2 separate regions of the Homo sapiens genome follow, and region 1 is linked to region 2. Evidence: promoter capture Hi-C in human tissues and cell types (Jung and others, 2019). All regions are on one chromosome and are shown on one strand. Each heading gives the region's core, a stretch centred on a gene start or on the middle of the fragment in contact. The rest is flanking DNA. Distances are from core to core; before and after follow the strand shown. Region 1 overlaps TAF3 (TATA-box binding protein associated factor 3). Region 2 holds the start of TAF3 (TATA-box binding protein associated factor 3).

Region 1 (7,675 bases), core at 5,144-7,643, 140 kb before region 2:
GGCTGAAAACATTTTCTTGGGGCAGCTTGTCTCACTTTAGTTTAACCTTTGGTGCCTTACATAAAGCTGCTCACATAAAGTGAGCAGATATGTCTCACTTTAGTTTAACCTTTGGTGCCTTACTTCTGTAGATTTGTAGGAAAATTCTCGGACCATATGGAACCGCATTTCAGGTGTATTTTTGTTTACTCATATGCTGTGGTGCTTGGGGGATTTAAACGGGGTTGAAGAAAGGGAAGTCTTAACATTTATGTTACTATCCCAATTTCTACTCCTTATCAATGGCATTTCCCTGGGTTGTCCTAACCTTTATCCTTTCCTATTTGTATCAAGGGCTAATATTCCAAAGAATGCCAAGGAAGTAGAATAATTTTTAAAACCTATTAATAGCTGACCTGCCCATATTAACACAGGCTAGCTGATATGGTCCAATGGAGCAGCAATCTCCAGGTTCCTACATTTTATAGTTTGATTCAGAATGGAACACTCTCTCCATCTACTGACATTTATGCGTCAGATACGGTACTAAGCACACCTTGTATGTTCTCATTTAATCCTTATATAAATGACTTACCCATTTTACAAAAGTCAGGATCTGAACTCAGGTCTAATTCTATAGACATTACTATTTATTATTTATAAAGGTCTTATAAGATAGCTGAATTTTCTACATTTTTATCTTTTGCCATGTACCTGCTCCATAGCCCAGCAAAACTGATCCAAGAACATGTATCTTTCTCTCAGGTGGACTCTGTGCTTCGAGGGACTGAGCCTTTGCCTTCCACCAAGGTGGTCTGGGGGACTTTTCTTCCCTAAAGTCAGGTAGATGCTGTAGAAAGGCATGGGACTGCTGTTACAAACCTAATCTGATGGCTTCACTCAAATTCATAATGGCTGTTGAAACAACTCCACTGACTTTCCAAAGTGAAGATGGTGGTGACAGGAACAGTCCCCTGTTTGATTTACTGAGGGCTCAGCTGCCAACTTACTAGGTACACAAGGGATAAATGACTAACTGCTGTCAGGCAGTATCTCTAACAACAAACCCCTCACCACGTGAAGTCTCTCTGCAGTGTAACTGACCTGGCTCTTGCTAGCTGTGTCATCCTGATCTTGGACAAGTCACTCTCTCAGGCTCAGTTTCTCTTCCATAAATATCGATGATAATACCTGCTGGACCTATGTCACAGGTGTGTTAGGAGGAGAAAACAAGGTGTATGGATCTGCTTTAAAACCTGACAACTACTATATAGAAATTGCATAATAATAAATAAAATGATTTTTTAAATGGAAATAAGAGTTGGATTTCTGTGTCTTGTTAACTTGTCAATGTTCAGTTATTGATATCAGAATTCCCATTTCACTTTTTTATATTTTAGGATAGCCAAAGAGAACAAAGAACAAATCAAGGTAGGCGAAAAATGGGAGTTGCCATTACTGCTGTCAAATACACTCAGTTTTCTAGGTAAGTTTGAAGTTAAAAATACTCCGAATTTATTGGTAATATATCTGCTGCAGGTCAAATACATCAAATTTTATCATATGAACAAAACTACTGGGTATTATTTTGTGGCCAAGCTCAAAGAAGATAACTTTTAGAGGGCAGGGAAAGGATCATCAGGAGCTCTGGGGTGGCACTATGAAGAGATACTTTTTCGGAAAGTTTATGAGAAATTTTCAAATAACCCAGCCGGCTGCTGTAATCCAAGAAACCACAGACTGAAAAGCAAAGCTGGGTAAGCAGAGGTCACAGCCTGAGGACTGAGGCCCCAATGCCTACAAAACTGCGGGGTTTCTATCAGTTTGTCGGGCTGTATGCTATGAAATGAAGTCTGACTTACTGAGATGGTCAAACATTTCTGCCATGTGGGATTACTTTCTGCCCACTCACCAGGCTGCCAGATCAGCCTAGATACTCAGAAATGTGCCCTTATCTTATTAAAGCAGAAAACGGAAGGAATAAAAGATGCTACGGAAAGTTCTGTAGACAGGCATAATCCTAAACACATGCCAAAATGGCGCACCAAAAAGAAAACCAAGGCAGTGGTCCTTCCACGGGCCTTGCTGTCCTCTTAAAATAGTGCCGTGGTTTTGCATGCTTTTAGAAACATGGATGCTGCCTTTCTCAATATATGGGTGCAAAATATAATGCAGTACACTTGATAATTCACATAAATATTATTCACAATTTAAGAACCCAGATTTGTTTTTTTTAAGCTGCCAGAGATCACTATAGCTAATAGAGAGTTTATAGTCTGTGATTAGATGCCTCTTAGGCTATGAATTTTTAACATCTGCTAGTGTGTTGAGGGCTTGATTACAGGTTTATGGGTTTTAGAATTAAAATCAAATTTTGTAACCTCATTATAAACATATTTCCACTTAAGTGATGGGTGATTTACACCCAGAATACAGATATAATTGTGGGCTTTGTTTACCTGTGTTTCTCACTAGGACTCTGTTCAGATAGGGCCAAAAATGAGAAACTGCTTACTTTTTCATGCTTGTGTTTCTCCTTCTCTTTTTCTCTCTTCTCTCGCTCTCTCTTCTCTTTCTCTCTTTCCTTCTCCTTCTTCTCCTTCTCTTTTTCCTTCTTTTTCTTCTTCTCCTTTTTGTCCTTTTTCTTTTCTTTCTCCTTCACCTTCTCTTTCTCCTCAAACAGTTTTTCCGGAAGCACTGGCAACAAAGATGGCAGCATGGCTGGGACCCTGGAGGCTGTGGCAGGGCTGAACAAGGGCAGGGCCAACTCTTTTGGGGGCAACACCAGTGGGGGTGCTGGGGCTTTCATCTTATCTTCTCTGCCTTTATCTTTCACTTTTTCTTTCTCTCTCTTATCTTTATCTTTCTTGCCTTTCTCTCTATCTTTCTTCTTATCTTTATGCTTCTCTTTCTCCTTCCTCACAAGTCCATCTTTCAATTTCACTTTGGGATCAACATCTTCAAATTCTTTGATTTTAAACTTGTAGGGATCTGCCTCTTCCTCTTTAAGAAATTCCTTCCAGGGATACTTTGTTTCCCTGCCAGTTTCCTTGTCTTTCTCTTTCTCTTTCACTTTATCCTTCTCCTTACTTTTGTCCTTGTTCTTGTCTTTTTCCCTCTCCCTATCTCTCTGCTTTTCTTTCTTTTTCATTTTAGTCTTTAGTTCCTTTTTCAACTTCTTCTTTACCTCCACGGAGGAAGGCAGCTTGGTTTTCTCCTCATACACCTTGTGGAGAGGTTCGGGAGTGGGAGGAGACACTGACGGAGAAGAGATATAAGGAAAGTTGGGGGGCATATTTGAAGGTGTTCCCAGTTTTGCTTTACGTACAACCTCATCAATGGAGGCATCCATTGTCCATGAGTTATCGGAACTTGAGGTTCCACCGGAAAGAGGCAGAGGAGTGGATCCTGACTTTGTGAAATTGTTCGCGGAAGTGGAAGCTTTGGGAGTAGTACACTCCGGGCCTGAAATTCTCTTAGGGCTAGTAAAAATGTCTCCTTCAGATTCCGATCCAGAAGAAAATTCGAAAGGATCTGGCTCTCGCTCAGCACAGGCTCGTGCAATCACAGCATCGATAGAGGCCTCAATCGTTTTATCTGCTACCACAGCCTTTTTCGGCTGATTCTCACTGTTCAGTTTCCCAGCATCAGGGGGTGTCTGTATTTGTTTTACCTGGATAGTCTCTTTACTGATTTTTTCACTGAGTGTAGCTGAAGGAGTCCTGTTGGGCGTTTCAGGTCTCACAGGTGTTTGGGGAATGTGAGTCGTGACCTTGGGGCTCTTGGGACTCTTGGGGCTCTTGGAACGTCCAGGTGATTTCTTTTCTTTGGATACAGTTTTTGGTGATCGAATAGGACTTCCGACCATTGCTGGTGACTGGGCGGTTTTAGGTGATTTAGTCTTCTGTCCTGGAGAGCTAGTTTTAGTCTTTGTTTTAGGTGTAAATGACTTTGTTTCTAATGGTTTTGCAGTTGGCATTTGTGATTTTGCAACTGGAGCCAACATTGGCGGCTCGGGTGAGGGAGGTGCCAAGTCTGTACTGTCCTGTACATGGACTGGAGAAAGCATTGGTGGGATCTTTTGAGTATTTATTGAGCTGAGTGGCTCTCGAGCTTCCAATAACACAACATCTAGCGTGTCCCCTTTAGTGCTTAATAGCCGAGGCCGCTTCATGGCTGGCAGTTCTTCAGCTTCAGGACTATCCAGTGGTCTCTTGCCCAGGAAATTCTCATCATTAATAATTTCTTCCTCCTCCAATTCATCATCTTCTTCCAAGGGAACCTGCATGGCTTCTGCTGATGTGCCTCCATCAGTGGGCACCTGCTCTTCTTCTTCTTCTGGTAAAGGAAGAAAAAGGAAGAAAAAAATAAATATTATTGGAATGTAACAAAACCTAAGAAATAAAAACAATGCTTCAAATATGATTTCTTTTTTCTTTCTTTTTTATTATTATACTTTAAGTTCTAGGGTACATGGGCACAACATGCAGGTTTGTTACACAGGTATACATGTGCCCTGTTAATTTGCTGCACCCATCAACTCATCATTTACATTAGGTATTTCTCCTAACGCTATCCCTCCCCCAGCCCCCGACCTCCCAACAGGTGCCGATGTGTGATGTTCCCCTCCCTCTGTGTCCATGTGTTCTCACTGTTCAACTCCCACTTATGAGTGAGAACATGCGGCGTTCAAACATGATTTCTAAAAAAAAAAGGAAATTATTGACAGTGTTTAAAAAGTAAGTTAGTTTTCAAGGATCTTCCAAACATGTGTGCCATCATTCTTAAAAGAGTGGCAGTCAGTAACAGCAGATGTACAAATTGATCATTGTCCTTTCACATGGTCTGGCCCTAACCTCAGGATCTGGAAATTGCTCGGTATTTCCAGTTGGCCTTCTGTTGTTTCCTGAATTAATTATTTTCCTAACCAGTAAATGCCATCTTTCTCTATCTCTCTCTCATGCACATAGAAGCACACGTGCGCACCCACACACCCTCTAAAAAATCAAGAGATGGATTATTATAGGACTTAGTATGGATTATTATTATTATCAGGAATGACAGGTATTTTTAGGACTTTTATGACAAATTCATATACTACTTATGTCTTCTATTTTGCTTGCTTGATGTGAGCCACTTGGAGAGGGAGTATGGTGCAATGAAATACACTTGGTTTAGGCACTTGACAAATGGTTTTTCGGCTAGAGTTACGGCACTAGAGAGCAACCAGCCTTAGGGACTCTCTCAACCTCTCTGAGCCTGTTTCCTAATCTTTCAAAAAGGAGCCGATGTTACTTGCCCTGCCTACTTGGCTGAGTTTTTCTAAGATCAGATTATTTCTCCCAACACATTTTAACTAAGCATATAATGTACAATGATAAAGTCTAAAAGAGCCACTGAAATAAATCAGAAATAAATCACAACTAAAAGAGCTCACAGTTTAGTGCAGCAATAACAGATATGTCTAGCCCACAGAAAGTGATCAGTGCCACAGACAGATAAAGTGCTACAGCAGGTCAAAGGAGAGACAGATCTCAGCGAGGTCAATCATGCGGAGGAGGCTTGATTAATTATGCAGCGTTTGGGATAGTTGGAGACTGGAAGTGGTGAAGTCCAGGACAAAGGGTCAGATGACAAATAGATGAAGGTGAAACACGGGGAGTGTAAGAGAAACAGAAAATTATTTGTCTGGAAAGTAGAGTGCAAGGTGGGGAGCAGTAGGAAGCAGGTTTAGTAAAATTGCATCCAGATCCTAGGACTTTTGAATTCCAGAAAAAGAAACATAATCTTTATTCTACTGGTAGTTTGGACCTAGAAGGATTTTAGACAACAGAGAAAAACGTGTGGGGTATGTGTTGGGAAAAGTCACACTGGCAGGAACACGCAGGATGGATGAGGGTGGGAGGTGATGGGTACTGAAGGAGAGCAATAACATGGATTACTGAAGTGATGTGAGAGGCAGTAAGGGTCAGAGCTAGAACAGTGGAAATGATCAGGAAGCAGCAGAGGTGAAGGATATTCTGAGGATAGAATGGATAGAATCTGATAAATGATTAGGGTATAAGACTTGAGCAAGGACTCAAACACAATTTCAAAGCTTTGAGCCTGGTCAGGCATGGTGGCTCATGCCTGTAATGCCAACATCTTGGGAGGCCGAGGGAGTAGGATTACCTGAGCCCAGGAGTTTGAAACCAGCCTGGGCAACATAGTGAGACCCCATCTTTACTAAAAAATACAAAAATTAGCTGGGTGTTGTGGTGCGTGCCTGTAGTCCCAGCTACCTGGGAGACTGAGGTGCAAGGGTCACCTGAGCCCAGAAGGTTGAGGCTGCAATGAGCCATGATTGCGCCACTGCACTCCAGCCTGGGCGACAGAGCGAGACCCTATTTTTAAAGAAAAAAAAAAGGGAAAGAAAGCTTTGAGCCTTGGTGAGTGATAAATGTAGTGATGAACAGAAACAGGAAATAAGGAAATAGAAAAGGACAATGATTATTAGCTCAATCCCTAGACACAGAGTTTGATGAACATTTAGTCTGCAATGCCTACTCGGCAGCTGAAATATAATACAGATGATCAGAAAACAGGACAGAGTGCATGAGAGAAAGAGTGTTGTTGAGATAACTAAAGTCACCATGATGGATGATATGAACAAGGAAGAAACAAGAGGAAACAGGTTCAGGTATTTTGAGGAATACCTATATATAAAAAGAAAAGGAAGAAGAACTAAAGAAATACATGGAGGGTCAGATGTCAAAGAGATCAAGGGAGCAAGAGTTTTATGCAGAAGGCAGGTGAACAAAGCCAAATGCTTAAGAGGTCAACGAGGATGAGGCCAACAGCAGAAGCCATGCTGCAAAAGCATGAAGGATGCACAGATGGAGAACGCGTGAGATGATGCATGGGGAAGTACTTAGTAAATCATAAAGAACATCACAACCTCATCAATTATGCTACCGATTCGCGATAATGATGGCATCACCCACCAGGTCCCAAGTCAGGAACCTGGGGTCATTCTAGATTCTCTCCCATCTTCTCCGCCAGATCTGAATTGACAGCACAAGTTTTCAACTCTGTTTGCTTTCATGTGCTTTCCCCCTGCTTCTGTCTTGTTAATATCAATATTCAGCACCTCTTCTCTGTATGGCTGCAAGGACCTTCTACCTAGTCTCGGCCTCCAGTGCAGCTTTCTCAGAACCATCTCTCACGTCGTCTTACGGTGATCTTCCGAACACGCAAATCTGAGCTTGTGGTTCCTCATCTTAAAAACCTTTCATTGCTTCCTTCAGAAGCAGTTTGTAAAAGGCATCCCTTGGAAATTGAGGGTTTGTAGAACCCCTTCTGAGGCTACTGCACAGTAGAAACGGCTGTTCTTTATTACACGGAAGAGTTATGCCTGGGGTTATCTATTTTACATGCAGAGCTTCCACAAAAGCTTTTGTTGTGAGGCTAAAACATGTTTGAAAATCACTATTCTAAAATACAAAAATCCTCTCCATCTGGGAAATTGGAGGAAAAAATAAAATATAAAAATCCAATTTCTCCAGTATGACTGACAAGGTGCTCCCTCTAAGCTAGGGAAGTAACCTCATCATTCACAGTGAGCCCCTGCGTGCTCTACCCATTCCAGCCATGCTAACTTATCTGCAATCCCCAAATATGTGGTCACACTCCTGTACCTCTGCACATGCGATTCCCC
Region 2 (6,971 bases), core at 3,201-5,700:
TTTATCTATAAATTTTCAAATGTAATTAGAAAACACCACATAAAACAGAGATAAAAAGTTAGATATAGAGATTTTTTTCTTTACAAAAGCAAGTTTTTCTTATGCCTATTCTTAGCAGAGCTTAAGGTCTCTACATCTTTAAAAATGTCTATGAAAATTCCATTTTCTGATTTTCAATAGCCTAAAGGATTTAACTGAAATCCTGACTTTTTAACTGAAATCCTGAAATTTGATCACTTCAAACTCAGTATGTCTGAAATTAAATCACACTGTAAAATGAAAAAGAATCCAAATATTGCTAGAATTGGACGCATGTGTAGTAATGCATACAGAAACCTCTGGAAGGATATTCAGCCAATGGTTAACAGTTCGAGGGGTGGAAGCTGCAGTAGAGGCGAGGGCTGTGGTGGAAGCAGGAGACTGACTTCTAACTCCACATACTTCTGCAGTCTTTGATTTTTTTTTTCTATAAGTATGGGTTACTTCTGTGATGCATTAAAAAAAGAAAATAAATAAAACGAATACTCTTCTTCTTACTGAATGTAAACAGGCATTTCATCTCTTCTATTCCTATTAAAGCTATTATTACTCTCTCAGTCTAAAAAATATAATAATCTTAAATTCCTCCATATGCTTTGCAGCCTCAAACCAAAACCTGGTAGTTTCTAACCCTGTCCCCGTCCCCTTCGGCCACCTTTTTTTTTTTTTTTTAACCATGATTTCAGATTTTTTTCCTTTCTCTCTATTCTTACTGTCACTATCTCAGTATAGTCTCAAGTTCTGCCCACTTCAATCTCTTATGCACATCACTGTCAGTACAATTTTCTTAAAATACCACTTTAATCATACTATTCCCCTACTTAGGAGTATGCAATGTTTTCTACTACATGTTTTAATTCTTTTGTCTAGCTTTCAAGTCCTTCCATAACCTGATCTCACTCTGTTGAACATTTTACTCAGACACCCTTGGAATGAACTAGCTGCATAGGGAGCTGAACACCTTACTGGTACTTTTATTATGCTTAATCTCACCTGGACAGCTTAGTTTATGTGATTCTCTAAGCTGGAATACTCTATACCTTTATACAACCATACTTCACAGCTCAACTCAAATCTTATCTTTTCTGTGAAGTAATCCTACCCCAGAATCTATAGCCTACAGCCATCTCTCCTCTTATCCCTTTTACATTTACTCCCTGTACCATGCAAAAAAATATTACAGTACTAGTGTTGAAGAGTCAGTCTGAAAGATTTAGCACCTGCTTTCAGTACATGCCAACATATTTAACATATAATGTGACACCGACAGAGACATCTGCCCTTGAATGCTTGGAGACATTGTTACCCTAAGGCAATTCTTAAGTTCATTATTTGTTCATTATTTGAATTAATGGTAACTTCTAATACTTGCTTTAACTTGAGAACATTTCTTTTAGAAGAAACAAACACCATCAGTTTGTTGTTTCCTGACATTCTGGAACTCTTGAACACACCTTATGGTCAGGGATTGTATCTTAGTAATTTTATGTCTCCAATGCCTAGTACAGGGGTTGGTTCGTAAGTGATGCTCAGTAAGTGTTTGTTAAAACAACAGAAAGGATTTAAAGGGGTGGAATACAAGATTCCATAGTGGTAACCTGGAGCTACAGAATTTGATTTTAGAATAAGGCTGGTATAGAAAAAAGAATCTAAAAATATCTAATAAGTATACCAAAATTAGCATTAAAAAAAAGTCACCAAATTACGTGGGAATAATGAACCTGACAATCTCATTCTCACTGAAACCAAGAAACTGGCTACGGAAACTTGGTAATTAGGAACAAGGTTTACACTGAAGAGCTGCAGTGACCCCTGGATGACTTTGGAATACCTAGTCACATAGAGTGGCAGCTCCCTTCTGTTTTGTATAAATGGCAGTAAAGGTAACTATGTATTCAGGAGACATTTTGAATATCTAAAGATACATGGTAGCAAACATAATCTGGACTATGCCTAGCCTAGCCTAGCCTAGCCTATCACTAACGGTATACTCAAGGACCACTGCAGCGGAGGCCAGAGGAAAAAGAAACAAAAGCCAGAAGAGTAGTCAGCTGGTGATGTACTTTCAAGATAAAAATGCACGCATATTACTTTGTGGTTCCACATTCAGATGTATCAGTGAGCTGGGCATGGTGGCTCATGCCTGTAATCCCAGCACTTTGAAATGCTGAGGCAGGAGGATCACTTGAGCCCAGGAGTTTGACACAAGCCTGAGCAATATAACCAGACCACATCTCTACAAAAAATAAAAAGATTAGCCAGGCATGGTGGCGTATCCCTGTAGTCCCAGCTACTTGGAAGGCTGAGGCGGGAGGATCACTTGAGCCCTGAAGTTCGAGGCTATAGAGAGCTAAGATCGCACCACTGCACTCCACGCTCGGCGACAGAGTGAGACCCTGTCTCAAAAGAAGAAGAGTAATAGAAGTATCAGTGAAATCAAGCATTCAAAACATATACATTTTTGGAACTCAATATGTAAAGTCAATAAGTGGCTTTTAGGGTAGTGGTTTATCAGTTCATTCATTTATTCAACAAATATTTCTCAGGTGCCTATTATATAATGGCCCTACAGGTTACAGAATACAAATATAATCAATTTTTCTCCTGGAGAGGGGAAAGAGACATACACAGGTGATTACAAAACAAGATGACAAATAATATAAAAGAAATATGCACAGAATTATGAAAGCAGATAACATGAGTTCCCTAGAGCAAGTGATAAGTGCATCTGAAAATAAAAGTAATACTATTGGTGGGCCACGGGCAAAGGACACTCTAGGTAAGAAACAGCACGCATGTAGGAATGGACAGCTTAAAACATTTTGGAAAAGGCAGGTAGCTCAGCGTGGTCGCAGATTAGCATGGCAGGCTGGCAAAAGGTAAGCAAAATGCTAGCTCACAAAGGGAACTGTGTACTGCTAAGAGTTTCGATTTTTAGCCTGTAACCAACGAAGTATAGTTAAAATGTTTTTAAGAATAATGACAGGATCAGATCTGTGCTATGGACAGATTATTTTGGCAGCCCTGTGGAAGCGGGAACGAAACTTGGGGCCTAAGAAATACAGCGTGTGTCTGTGAGTCTCAATTTTCCAGTATAGGAACCACTTTAACAAAACAAAATATCCTATGAAACACTTCATTCAGTTCTCCAGCTCACCACCTTAAACATCATGACTTGAAACTAAAATGAGTGGTAGTTTCCTCTCCTCAACAAACACACATACAATGCTTCACATCAACAAGATAATGTGGAGCTTCTATTAAAATATTCCATTCCTTCCATTAAATTATTAAATACCACTAGCTATAGATATTACCAGACATTCATTTAAAACTCATAAGTACTGTAGCCCAGATTACCTGGAGAATCTTGTCAACTGCCCACGGTCCCTCTATCCTACTTCGATAGCCACTGACATCTCACTGGTAACCGAGACGTAAGTGAAAGTACATCTAATCAGCGAAACTGACAAAGTCAGCCTTGGAAAAACAGTAAATGGAGATGTCGTTCACGAAACGAACAGATACAGAAAGACGAGGCAGTGTCCCTAACGGAGCAGAGCTGTCAACGAGTCTATGTAGTTAGGAGCCCAGGAATGGCCAGTCTTGTAAGAAACGGCCGGTAGACGGAGCGCCTGTGACAACTAGTTGTAGTAGTTTGCGGGCAAGGGAGAAAAAGGACCGAGGTAAAAGAGGGTGTAGGGCACGCTGGGGGTGGATCTACCCGCAGCAAACAGGAGACAATGAGAGAGATCCAGACACAATTCAGAGCGGAGGAGCGGTAGGAGGGTGTGGAGCTGGGAGCGAAGACCCGACTCCCGGGCTGGTGGCGGGAAGTTAGCGGATAAGGAAGAGGCACCCGAAGGATGACTAGAGTTTGGAGCGGCAGTGGAAGCCCAGGGACGTGGGAGGCCGAGGAAACAGCAGATCTCGAGGCGGGGTGCGGGATGCACACCCCGGGGACGCGGAGGGACAGGGAGAGCGAAGGTGTCACCCTTGACTTGCCGGGGCAGCCCTCCCGCACCCAGCCCGGTACTCACAGAGCTCAGAGTACCGATGGCAGCCCCGGCCCAGCTGCTGCAGATAGCGCTGCAGCACGTCCGTGAGGAGGTGGCAGGCGCTGAGCTGCACCGAGTCCCAGCCCAGCGCCTGGCAGATCTGCGCCACCGAGACCCTCAACAACGACCTGGAGTAACTCTCGCACATCCCGCTGCGTGGACGCCACCGCAGCCCTTGCTGCCACTGCTCTCCAGCCCCGCCGCCAGACCTTAGCAGGGTCCCCGATTCATCCTCTAGGGCTTCCGCGGCGGGGAAAGGGTCCCCCGGACCCCCGGCGACCACCTCAAAGCCCCAGCAGCACGGAGCGCGCCAGCCTGAGAGCCGCCATTTTGGACTCGCTCCGCCTCCCGCTGGACGGCCGCCGGGGCGAGGCAGCATAAGCCGAATGCCGAGCGCGGCGATGAGAAAGCTCCGCCCCTTGGGAGCGGAACGATTCCTCGGGATCGCCTCTGAGGCCTGGAAGCCGGCCGGAAGCGGGCGTGGGGCGCGCAGGTGGAGGAGGCGCCCAGGGCGGCAGGTGCTGGGGCGCTCACCTGGGGGACAGCGGTGACGAAAACGCCAGTGTTTTAGAGGCAAACGAGGGATCTGGGATACGACATTGACAGGTTAGAGAGTTAGCACTAATAACGTTAGTCATATTAGAGAGTTATGTGCTAGAGAGAAGTTTGGGGCGTGGGAACTTACGGAGCTCGCCAAACGCAGACCTGCGCTGGTGTTGCCTCAGCTAAAAATCTGTGTATTGAGCTGCTTGCCACTGCAAAGATTAAATAAAGTCCAAGCTGTTCCGCATGCCCTTCAAAGCCCTTCGCAATAGGGCAGGAACTAGGAGGACTCTGTGCCAAATTAATGGGGGCCTCAAAAAACTCAGTCATCAAGATCGATAATATTTTAACAGTTTTTTTAAAAAAATCCAAATCCATGCCATAAACTCCTGACTCACTCATGTCATTCTAATCCCAGCCCTGGTTCCAATAAAACTTTTTTTTTTTTTTTTTTTTTAAAAAAAACAGGTAAGCTGCCTGTGGGCTATAGTGTGCGATTTGAGCATCGCGGCTGTGACCTATCGGGGGATGGGGACCTCGGCTGCCTACAGAGGCCAAACCGAGCCTTAAACCGGTGTCGCAGGCCGAGTGTCCTGGGAACGGTTGCCTACCCCAGAGCCTTCTCCCAGCTCCATCCAAGTATTGCCAGAAATCGGATTTAGGGATAAATATCTTGATTTTTAAATACAGAATTGGGAACACATCTCAAAAGCCAAACTGATCCCACGGTTAGTCTAGATTCAGCCTGCAGGTCGCCCGATTGTAGTGGCTGAACTATGCGGTTTCTTAAATATGCCCTTCTGTACTTATCACAGTGTATTTAGTTTATGTGCTCCTCCAATAAATTGCGAGTTTATGAGTGGCTCTATATTCCTCCGACAGGGACTATTCCAGAACTTTGAACATGATATTCACATTTTTCAAAGTCTGGGAAACTCAATAATAGAACTGAAATTATGGTTCTTCAGCTAAATGACGATCTGCAGAGAAGCAAGGTACTAAAGGGCAAGGTGCCTGCATTTACTCCCTGGACACTCTGTCCCCAAGTTATCAGGAACATTGTGTTGCTAAATCTATGAGACATTTTTCAGTCCTAGCCGTACTTGATTATTTTGTAGCTATTTGATAATGTTGAACGCTTCTGTAACATTGAAACTCTCTTGCGCCTTGGATTTCACAAATCTGTCCCGCTACCGCCGCCACCCTGGGTGTTTGTTCCTCTTCATTTGCCTTTCTGTGTATAGGGGAGGGGATTTTATTTCGGAAAATTTCAAACCTACAGAAAAGTTGAAACAAAATCATAGACTCACGTGTACACTTCAACTAGATTCACCAATTGTTAACATTTTGCCAATTTACTATATATTTTGTATTTATATATGCACGCAGGTATTTTTTTTCCAGCAGTTTGAAAATAAGCTGCAAACTTCATGACACTTAACCCCACCACACCTCGACATGTATCACCCCAAAACAAGAACATTCCCCCACATAACTATACACAAGACCATATGTCACAGGCTTGGTTCCCCAGGAAGTCAACTCTGAAATAGAGATGAGCCTGCAGAAAGTTCATTGAGGGATCCTCCTGGGACTTGGGGGAAGGAGTGAAAGCCAGGGTGCAGTGAATTCCTTGGCAAGAAAGCCTCAGCCAAGCCAATGCCATAGTGTGCAGAAGCTGGAGTGGCCCTTCAGAGCTTCCCTGAATCCAAACAAGAAGACTGGACCTTTATATTCCCATAGGAACAGGTCACTGCATGAGGGCTACCTGGGAAAGGGTGTGTGCTCTCAGGCAAAGGAACACTGCAGCTGAGTCCATTCAATTCCAAGGACAGCTGAAGTCCTTCAGTCCTGAGGGGGCTCTGAGCAGTGGATTAGAGCATTCATCACAGTTCATCTATTTTACCCTCAGAGACACTTCTTGGTTTGAGGAACAGCTCCTCCAGGATTCTGGAGGGGGCCCTTTCCCTGGGGAAAACATTAAAGAGGAAGGTCAGGAGACAAATTAGAGCCCCGACTGCTGCAGCCAGGCCTCAGCTGATACTCAGTATTCTCCTCCTCAGGCCTACATTTCTCTCACTTCTGGTCTCAGTAGCTTATTTGGTGGCATGATGCAGACCCTCATGTGCAGGTCTGAGCCCCTGGTTTCCAGGCCCTTTTCAGACTGTGGCTGCTGAACTCGTCCTTGTACCATCAGAACTGGGGAAGAGAATACCCAAAATTGGGCAAGAGGCACCCAAACAGACCATGTGGAAACCAAACACTCCACCTTGCCTCCCACTCTGTAATAGGAGCCCATCCCCCTCCTAAAGATGACTCCTCTCTTAGCTG

What was found. The method cuts DNA at HindIII sites, captures the fragments that hold promoters and counts their contacts. A contact is called where the count stands out against the background at its distance.
Region 1: a fragment that was not itself captured here is called in contact with the fragment with the promoter of TAF3 in region 2 in 1 of the 25 tissues and cell types used here (mesenchymal stem cells).

Annotation. Positions count from the first base shown.
Region 1 is chr10:7,960,562-7,968,236 of GRCh38, reverse strand. It overlaps TAF3 (TATA-box binding protein associated factor 3), which reads right to left. Exons shown (of 7, transcript NM_031923.4): 3 at 2,495-4,317. Among named protein-coding and RNA genes, the nearest start is that of GATA3-AS1, 89 kb to the left of the region's middle. RefSeq lists silencers at 857-1,151, 6,083-6,247. The HindIII fragment of the contact is 3,290 bases long and covers 4,749-7,675 here.
Region 2 is chr10:7,815,984-7,822,954 of GRCh38, reverse strand. TAF3 (TATA-box binding protein associated factor 3) reads right to left here and starts at 4,450. Exons shown (of 7, transcript NM_031923.4): 1 at 4,080-4,450. The coding sequence starts at 4,245. LOC105376392 (a long non-coding RNA gene) reads left to right here and starts at 4,592. Exons shown (of 3, transcript XR_001747356.1): 1 at 4,592-4,703. RefSeq lists enhancers at 3,738-4,255, 4,384-4,443, 4,256-4,774. The HindIII fragment of the contact is 13,699 bases long and covers 1-6,971 here.